Linked DNA regions of Homo sapiens: region 1 is linked to region 2. Evidence: promoter capture Hi-C in human tissues and cell types (Jung and others, 2019). All regions are on one chromosome and are shown on one strand. Each heading gives the region's core, a stretch centred on a gene start or on the middle of the fragment in contact. The rest is flanking DNA. Distances are from core to core; before and after follow the strand shown.

The links. The method cuts DNA at HindIII sites, captures the fragments that hold promoters and counts their contacts. A contact is called where the count stands out against the background at its distance.
Region 1: a fragment that was not itself captured here is called in contact with the fragment with the promoter of PCMTD2 in region 2 in 9 of the 25 tissues and cell types used here (H1 embryonic stem cells, IMR-90 fibroblasts, dorsolateral prefrontal cortex and 6 more).

What each region holds. Positions count from the first base shown.
Region 1 is chr20:64,158,857-64,163,407 of GRCh38, reverse strand. No RefSeq gene overlaps it. Among named protein-coding and RNA genes, the nearest start is that of MYT1, 3.3 kb to the left of the region's middle. RefSeq lists enhancers at 598-2,078, 3,989-4,551. The HindIII fragment of the contact is 3,096 bases long and covers 856-3,951 here.
Region 2 is chr20:64,254,465-64,259,217 of GRCh38, reverse strand. It overlaps PCMTD2 (protein-L-isoaspartate (D-aspartate) O-methyltransferase domain containing 2), which reads right to left and starts at 3,470. Exons shown (of 6, transcript NM_018257.3): 1 at 3,348-3,470. The HindIII fragment of the contact is 11,329 bases long and covers 1-4,753 here.

The sequences.
Region 1 (4,551 bases), core at 1,154-3,653, 95 kb after region 2:
CTGTGAAACACAAGGGTGAAAACTCAATGTGAGACGCCTGCAAAGATGCCGCCGTCCAAGGGCAGCTGGAGAAGCAGAAAACTCACATCTCAGAAGTTCAGTGCAGAGATTTCAACAGACAGTAAACATCATTTCTTGGTAAATTATGCAAGAGCACAATACCCCAACTTAATTAGCGCTAAAGGGCTCGGGCCACCAAAAGTGTGACTGAGGCAGAACTGAACACAGCTTTCTCTAAGAGAGCATGTTTTGAAAATCTTAGTGGCTTATTTTTAACATACAGTTTGTGCTTTACACGTTACATACAAACCAAAAGCTTCACCCCAAAGGCAAGTATCTTAGATTCTTATACGCACACATTATCCTCAACAAATAAAACACAAAATGCACACAGAGCAATTGTTCAGATTGAGCACAAGGACATAAATGCAAGCCTGCACTGGTCAAACTGAGGATGAAATATTAATTAGTCAAATGAGAACAGTTCGAGGTTTCCACAATGACTGCCTACCATTTTTAATTTCTGTCATAAACTTATATCCATTAGTATAAAAGGACACATTCAGCTGAGAGCACTCCTGAAAAGCCGTTTCTGTCTCCTCTGGACATGCTGTGAGTGCTAGGATGTCTTACACCCCAAACCTTCGGCATTCAGAAATTCTATTAAACTCTTATCGGCAGGCTGCAGGCTCCGGGCAGGCTTGCGGGCCATTGTTCCATGATGAATACAGAATCAAAGGGAGGGCCGTTGCTGAATCAGCCTTATTTCCCAACGACACCCAAGGTTTCATGAAAGCGACTTAATTCAGATATGCAACAGTCACACCTAAGAAACCACAGCGAAGCGGAGGTGGCAGCAGGAGAGATGAACCTGCGCAACACGGGCTTCGTGGGGCACAACAGTTTTTTCAGGTAATAGAAATTGTATTTGTGAAAACGTAAGTCTTTCGGCATTTCTCACTTCCCCTTTTGAACAATCACAGGCCTCCTGAGGTGTGGCGCTCCGGGGGTCGGGAATGGGCCCCCAGACCCTCTGTGGCGCTGCCAGGAGGAGCATTCAGAATGTGCCTGGAAACTTGAAATCGGTGCCTGCTGGCAGGACCTAGGGCGCCCTGGGAGCTCCCACCGGGAGGTTAAAGTGCTATGAGCAGTTTCCGAAGATGAGCTTTGATGAGTAAAGGTTCGAAGTCTTTAGCTGACCCCGTCAAGACAAAGGAGTCCAGGGAAAAGAGCAGGACAGAAGAGCGGCCGCCGGCACGTCTCTCCGGTTCGGCTGCCGCCCTTCAGCCCCTGGGAGGCGGCCTGAGCGGTGGGTGGATCCGAAGTCTGATCAGCACTTCGGACAGCGCTCTCCCCCCAGAGCGCCTCAGTCTTTGTTCTCCGCACACGGAAGCTTCTGAGCTCGCACCAGTATTCAGCTATCGCTGAACTCTGGGCTCCGGGCTGAGACAGAGAATTCCAAACCCCAACAGATCCCTGCTTGTAAGTGACAACAGCAAGGTATAGTCTTAAGCTTCCTTTCTTAGAGAGGGTGAAAATTTGTCAGGACTTTTTGAAATCATAAAATATTTTCTCTTCCATAACTGAGCATGTTGCACGCTGTTCCTTTGGGTTTTATTTCATAAAAGTCTGTGGGAAAGTCACATGTGACTTTTTAATAATATGTTTGGAAAGATCCACCAGGAAATAACTCCTGTCTGACTGGCGGGTCCTCAGACTCCACACGGGGAGGGAAACGGGAGATTTGCAAAACCAAACTTACGCCGCAGCCGCACTCGCTGAGAAAGCGCTTTGTGTGAGTGGGGGAGCAGGCTTAATGATCGCTTAGCTGGTAAGATCATTTCAAATAAAGTGTAATTACTTGTGCAAATCTGCACACAGACATTCCAAGTGTCAGTTCATTTGCTTCATAAAAACTCTTTCAAGTAATTTTGGTCTAAACTTTCTGCATCTGTAATTGGCACCACCTTCTCCGGTGACCAGCTGGGGGTGAGGGTTTTCTTGTTTCCTTCTGAAAGCTTCCCCGCAGATGGGCGCCTGCCTTAATGCTGCAGACGACAATTAGGGCCGTTGTGTGAGGCCGAGATGGTGAGCATTAATATTGTATAGAACAGCTGAGGGCGGGGGTGCTGCCCCAGGCCGGCCCTGGCAGATGGAGCAAACAAAACCGGGATCCACTCTCCGCCACACTCGGGGCTGACTTTGTGTTTCTGTCTCACACTCACGCAGACGCTCACAAACATTTGGCATCCAGTTTGTGAGACCCTCACATACATATGCACACTCACACACGTGCACTCACACACACAGCAACTTTGAGTGTGATGAGGACGCAAGCAGCAGCGGCCCTGGCCAAAGCCCCTTAGCTACAGTTAAGTCCCAGGGGACATCTGTCGCGCGCACGCGCGCGCGCACACACATTCTCTCTGCCACCTTCTCACAGAGTCTCACAGAGCCTTGCTCCAGGCCAAGGGCTCCTGACACCCACCAGCTATATGGCCTGCCAGGCAGATCCAGGCAGGTAAATCAACAGAAAGAAGGCCCAGCTGGCCTCTGCACACACCCTGCCCACCGCCCTCCCACCTCCAACCTTCTGCAGGGCAGCGTTCACAGGGCTCTGTGCCGTCAGCACTTCTGCAAGCCACGGGATCCGCTAGAAGGGGAGGTGGCTGTTTCCCCAGGGGCCCTGGCCATTGTTCAGGAGGGAGCATGTCTGTCACCTCCTTGGCTGCCCAGAAAAGAGCACTGAGCTCTGAGGGGGGGACACACACAGCTAATTAGTCCCTTTGGCATCTTCGCAGAAACTTGTGAACAGACCAGGGAGGGACGCGAGGGGCTGGGGGTGGTACGCACCCAGGAAGGTCCCGCAGAGCGTCATCCTGGCCAGGGGGTGCACCTTCTCTCTGGGAACACACGTCACTTCATGCTGGAAAAAGTTGCTGCACAAACTTGTGTCCCAGGGCCCTGGGGAGACCCCACTGCATCCAGCCAATCAAGACCAGGGAGCAGATAATCACAAATTGATGCCCCGGCTGCCTGCCAATGAGGCTCTCTTCTCCACACAATGGGCTCAGGCCCCAGACAATCTCTCCCCCACCCCGCAGGGCCAGGGAAGGGGAGTGAGGGGAGGCAGAGACACAGCCCTTCCCACACAGTAATGGACTCACAGTGAGTGAGGGGAGGGGGCCCTTCCTGAAGATGCATCCCTTCCCCCGCTTCCTCTCTCGGAACTGCCACACTAGGTCCAGCCTGAAACCTGGTGGGGAACCAGCCAGGATGCATGAGTGGGGTCAGGTCTCGCTCCCTACAACCCAATCACTGCCTGTTGAGACAAGGCCCCTGAGGGCCCTCAGCTGGTGTGGTTGACTCCCCACCACCAGATCCCAGGCACAAGGTATGGTGGGAGGTGCCAGGGGGAGGCAAACTGTAGAAGTCAAGAATCCCTCGACAACCTCAGGCCCTGCAGGCAGAGGGTGGGGTGTGCAGGAAGGAAAGGGCAGGGAGAGAGGGCTGCCCAGAAGGACCTGGACCTTCCAGCAGCTACAGCCGCGCCAGGGCCAGGGAGGGGCAGGGTGTGTGGATGGGAGTGAAGGTGGGCACTGCAGAGGCCTCTTCCAGAATGATTCCTAGTCCCTCGAACTGGGCCCACGACCTTTCACTGCCCACAGGGGCCCTTTGAAACGATGAACTTGGCCTCACCATGGAGCCCGGCTGTCCTCTGGGCCAGCTTCCCCTGATGCCGAGGGAAGCTCCCATCACCCCAGGCAGCTCAGGGTCACCTCCTGGTCCTCAGGTTCTGCAGGTGTCTGTCCCTGCAGGGGACAGGTGGAGGCCCAGGTGATGCTGGCTTACCTCTACCAACACGTGGCCAAGTCCAGGCTAGTCTCTCCCATCCAGGGCAGCACTGAGGGGGAGGCCCGGAGTATGGAGGGTTCAAACCTTTGGAGGAGGCAGATCTGGACTGACCCCTGACCGGCCCCTCCCAGCTGGGTGACCAAGAGCAAAATGTTTAACATTTACATCTTCAGTGAGGTCTATGGTGAGTGCTACTGGGCGGCAATAGACGGTAAAGGGTGTCCCAAGAGAAGTGACGAATTGCATTCGAGTTGGGACACCCCCTCAGGAATGAATCGGGTTGCTGAGGGTCTGGATGTGGTAGGGACAGAGAGGCCACAGGAGACTCCAGGGCTGGCCAGAGCCATGAGGTGGGCGGCAGCACCCCCTGAGAGGGAGACGCTGAAGGAGGGCAGATTTGTGGGAGTTGCTGGCTCTGCTGGGATGTCTGAGCGCCTGTTAGTCACCAGGTGACACCGTCAACAAGGGTGACAGTATGGAGGCTGAGGCTGGGGGCAGAGATTAGGCTGGAAATAAATGGTGAGTCATCTTGTTTAGAGGAGAGAACATCGAGGGGTGAAGGTGCTCAGAGGCTGGTGAGCGTGCAGGAGAAGCAGGAGGAAGCAGGTGGGTGCAGGGGGGACAAGTGGGAGGCCAAGAGGGGCAGGTAGGGGTGGGGAGACAGGTGGGGCAGGTGGAGGTAGGAGGGGGGAGGGG
Region 2 (4,753 bases), core at 2,221-4,720:
ATTGAACGTACTGTGACAAATACCTTTTTCTAACAAATGCAAAATCAGCTTCCTGGCTAAAGTTTAAGTGTAGGAGGGGCTGCTACCAGAACTTCCTACAGCCCCTCCTCAATTGCATGATACGCAGCTTTCCCAGCTCTTTAAAAATAACAACTACTTGTCTTACCTTCTCCCAACCTGCCTTCAAGAAGAAAAAGCACAGCATGTGTCACCTCTGAGCCTAACTATTAAAATACAGGGTAGCTTCAGCTAATTCACAAGAAAACACTTTTTCACGCGGAGAAGTCTTACTCTTCTTAAAACTACAAAAATATCCTTTCCAATTTTATACTTACCCCATGTAACTTTTTCAAAGTAACTGCTTTAACTTCATATAAAATGGTAATGCTTTACAAAACACCAGATACAAATTGTCAGGGAAAAAGACCACCAGACCTCATGAAGACATTTTCTGAAATGAACACAACCTTTTTAACAACTTGTTATAATTATGATGAAGTTTATACTTGCTTTCCTCCTCACATTCCTCTGGATTTCTAACAGTAGAATGAGGATCGTAAAGAAATACTGTGGGGTGACAAGGGGCCTGGGGCGGATTTCATACACACCCACGTACACAACTGGAGACAGCGGTGGGAGGTTTTCCCAGGAATGAAAATAATCACATAGTTTCTTACAAGTGAACAAAAAGTGTGAAGGGTATAGCTTAACACAAATTCTCTTCTATTTTTATGGTGGAACACTCAATCTTCACACTCAAGATTTTAGAGCTGAATATTAGGTTTTGCAAATCAATAGGATGGTCCAGTCATTAAATTTTCACACCCTTTTTGAATTTTTTGAATTGTTTCGGAGCCCTTGTTAGATTACGGTCCACAGCCAGCTGACTTAGACTTAGATGGAATTAAGTCCTAATGAGGTCAACTTTAATCCTGGATAAGCCACTCAGTTCTGAGGCTGCACCCTAGCCTACCACAGTCATCTTAAAATTTGGGTCAGTGGTTAAAAGCGGAATCATGTGTTTGGATGCTTAAGGGTCTATTTAGGAAAAGAGCTGGAAAATCGCATACCGTCCTCAGTCAAAGCCACCTCTTCACCCAGAAGCCTGTATATAATGTTCCAACATTGTCTCAATGCCACATCTCTAGAAGGTAACCTCAAACTGTATGTTGGATAGGTTTCATTTTCCACTAAGTAACTATCACTTATTTTGAACTCTGCCTTAATTTGAAAGTTCAGACAGCTTTTTAGTAAAAACAAGCACCTTTTTCCAGGTACCACCTGCCAGTCATGGCCTCATTTACACTTCACAACATTAAGAAGCAAATTGGAGCTGGCCGGTTAATTTGTTCATGATCACATAGCCAGTTTGTGAGGAGGGGGCTGCATTCAAACCCAGGACTGTATGGCAAAAGGCCTGTGTTTTTAATACCACACCAGTGCAGCTTTTAAAAATACTCAAGACAGCAACGTTCTTTACCACACAACACACCGGTAACCTTTTGACGATGGGGTAACCCTATCTATACCTATTGCCACTGGTAGGATCCATGTGAATAGCTGTGGGGTCTGATATTTATTACCATCTTTGTCTGGTAATCTAACACTCCCTCGCACTGAAAACCATCGATATGATCAGTCATGATGTCACCAAAAACACCGACAACAAAGCTCTTCGCCAAACCAAATCCTATCATTTTCACCCAGATTCTACAATCTGGTCAAATCCAATTTTTCAAAGTAAAAGTGTAGAATCATTTTTAGAACGCTGCACTCGATGATACTGTGCACATTGTCTGCTGTAATTAATCCTTAATATAATTCACTACTCTGTGGTAACTAGCAACAGTCCATAACAACCTGGCTGCTCCTTACAATGCGAACTGCCAGGGCACATGAAGAACACTTGCTGAGTGGCGACAGGCATGGGAAGGTCTCAGAACTGACACCTGAGTTGTGATTGTGGCTGTGTCAACACAAGCATGAAGCTATGGTAGTGGGGTTTTGGGAGGCGACATACGGAAGATCACATTCCAACTTGGATGTCACTTCTTTAGGGTAATATGGACAAAGTAATTCATTGTGGAAGATGAGTGGGGAAAAGGACCCAAAGCCACATCTCCTTTGGGCAGAATGATCAAACAAACACACAAACAGATTTCTCACCTTGAAAACCAGAACTCTTACAAGCAATGCAAAGGGACTTTTTTCAAATACAGATGGTCTCCGACTTCGGATGGTTCGACTTCAGGTTTAACGATGTGTTTACTGGGATGCGACCCCACCGTAAGCCGGGGAGCACCTATACTTGAAAGGCTGTCACATGTACACTATTAATGGGCCTAACAAAAGCCAGACCAGTGGTACATGTTGGAGACAATGCCTACTAAATACACAGAGAAGCTTTCTAACAAATGAAGTTGCAATGAATGAAAGGAGCTCTTGATAAGCCCAGCCAAGTTCCACTGGAGGTACGAGCTGGGGTGGCGCAGGGAGCAAGGCCCTGGATCGGTCACCTCTGAGGTCTCCTCTCATCACCTGAGTGTAGGGCTCTATTTCCCCCAAGCGTGGCCACAACAATTTCTGAGTTGCTTATAGGCACCTCAACTTCACTCATTCTTGAATGACAGTCTATCAAACGCCCAGATAGGAGCTGTTTAGCCATTCCCTTGAGAAGAAAAATGAAAACTATTCTAGTCACACGAGTAAAGAGGGGGTGGATAAAGAGGGCGTGGATATTTAGGTGACTTATTTGAGGTGCAACGCTGGAGCAAACATTCATTTAGGAGACACGTCCCTCTCACAAAAACAAAACAAAGGCCCGAAGCTCAGGCAAGTTCTCCTTCCTCCAACTAACAAAGATCTCTTTCCATGCGTGAATTGAAGTCCCAGTGCTCTGCTCCAATTCTTACTATCTCCAAGGCACGGGGCGGGGGGGCGCAATTATTTTTTTAAAAAATCCTGTCATCTTCTGAAAGGGTCCAAGGCAGACTTTGTTCTAAACCTTAGCTCTTGGCTTGCCTTGGAACTGCAAACGTTTCCCACTTGGGAAGTCAAAGACAAGCTGCAGGTCTGGACTAACCAGACCCAAGAGTGTGAGTGAGCAACGGGCACCGGGAGAGACCGACGGGAAACCGCGAGCGCTCGGAGAGAGAAACGCGGGACGCCCTGGAGGCCGCTGGGGGGAGGTGAGGGTGCCCGAGGTGGGGAGGAGCGACGCCCCCAGAGGAGAGCTCCGGGCGCAGGGGTGCCGGGGGTGGGGAAGGAGGAGGGAAGGGGCCGAGGGGACACACCACCCGCTCGCCGCAGGCCGGACCGAGGGGCGGCGGCGGCGGCGGCGGCTCTACCTCCAGGCTCGGCCGGCCGACGGGTTCGGACCGCCTGGGCTGCCACCTGCAGCTCCTCGGGCGCGTCCCTCGTGTGTCCGCGGCCGAGCAGCGCCGCTCCAACCTCGGCCGCCGTAAACATCCGCCGCCGCCGCCGCCGCCGCCGCCTCTGCGCCTGCGCACAACGGCCTGACTGCGCATGCGCCGCGGGCCTGGCACTTAAAGGGGTGATGGCGGCGCAGGGCGGGCCCCACTCCCCTGGGCTGCCTGCGTCCGCCCGCCCCGCTGAGAGCTCGCTGAGCCCTAGGCCGGGTCCGAGTCTCGCGGGCGCGCCGTCCGCGCAGTGCTCAGCCAGGACGGACCCCGCACGGGCTGCCTCAGAAGCCCTCCCTAAGGGTCACCTGAGACGCCTTTGCTGACCCACGGCTGGGGGCGTTCCGCATCTCCAGGGTGCCCTGCGGCTGCTGACTCGGGGCCGGCGCTGCCCTCGGGCGGCCTCCCAGCACCAAGCACAGCCGCCCTGGGACCCCCGCCCTGCCACGCGGACGGCCACCCGGCCCTGGGGCCCTCCTACCCAGCCGGCTTTGTGAAATCAGCTGTGAAAGGAAGATATCCTGGGCCCCCAAGATCACTAAGGAAAACTCCAGCAGGAAACTGCTTAGGGCAGGCCTGCTTCCCATTCCATTCAAAGTCACTCCTCTGCTCACTTAGATAGATACATATCTGATTTGCCTCCTTTGAAAAGGCAAATGAGAAACTCAAAAGAATTTAACCGTTGGTGTCTCACCTATCTGTGGCCTGGACGCTCCCTCCCCGCTTGGAGTCTTCCTGCCTTTGCTTCAAGTTGTCCCGTCTTTCCAGACCGAACCGATGTGCTTCTTACATGTATCGATGGATGTATCCTGTCTCCCTAAATGTATAAAACCAAGCTGTGCCCCGACCACCTTGGGCACATGTCAGGACTTCCTGAGGCTGTGTCACGGGCGCGTCCTCACCCTTGGCAAAATAAACTTTGTAAATTAACTGAGACCTGTCTCCCATTTTCTGGGTTCACACAGCCCATTGCCCAAACTTCGCGTGGGGCTTTGCAGATAGGCTGTAGCTGCAGAACCCTTTCTTCAAGCACAGCCATGCAAGCCGCCTCATATGTGCAAGTGCCAGCGTCGCTGGGGCGGACGAGTGGGCCTGGGTCTCCGGTTCCCGCCTCCCTCCTAACTCGGCATTCCTCCCCAGACCCTGGAGCTCCACTTAGGAGCAGAGTTTGAAAACCAAAGGCCGGTGCCTTCACCACGTTATGTGGTCCCAGGGAGACCTCACTTCTCTTGTTGATCCATGGTCCTGGATCCACGGACCTGAGGTGGCCCACCACCTCATGACCTTCATGGGGCTCTCAGTGTCCTTCCACCTGAGAGCTTGTGGTTATTTGT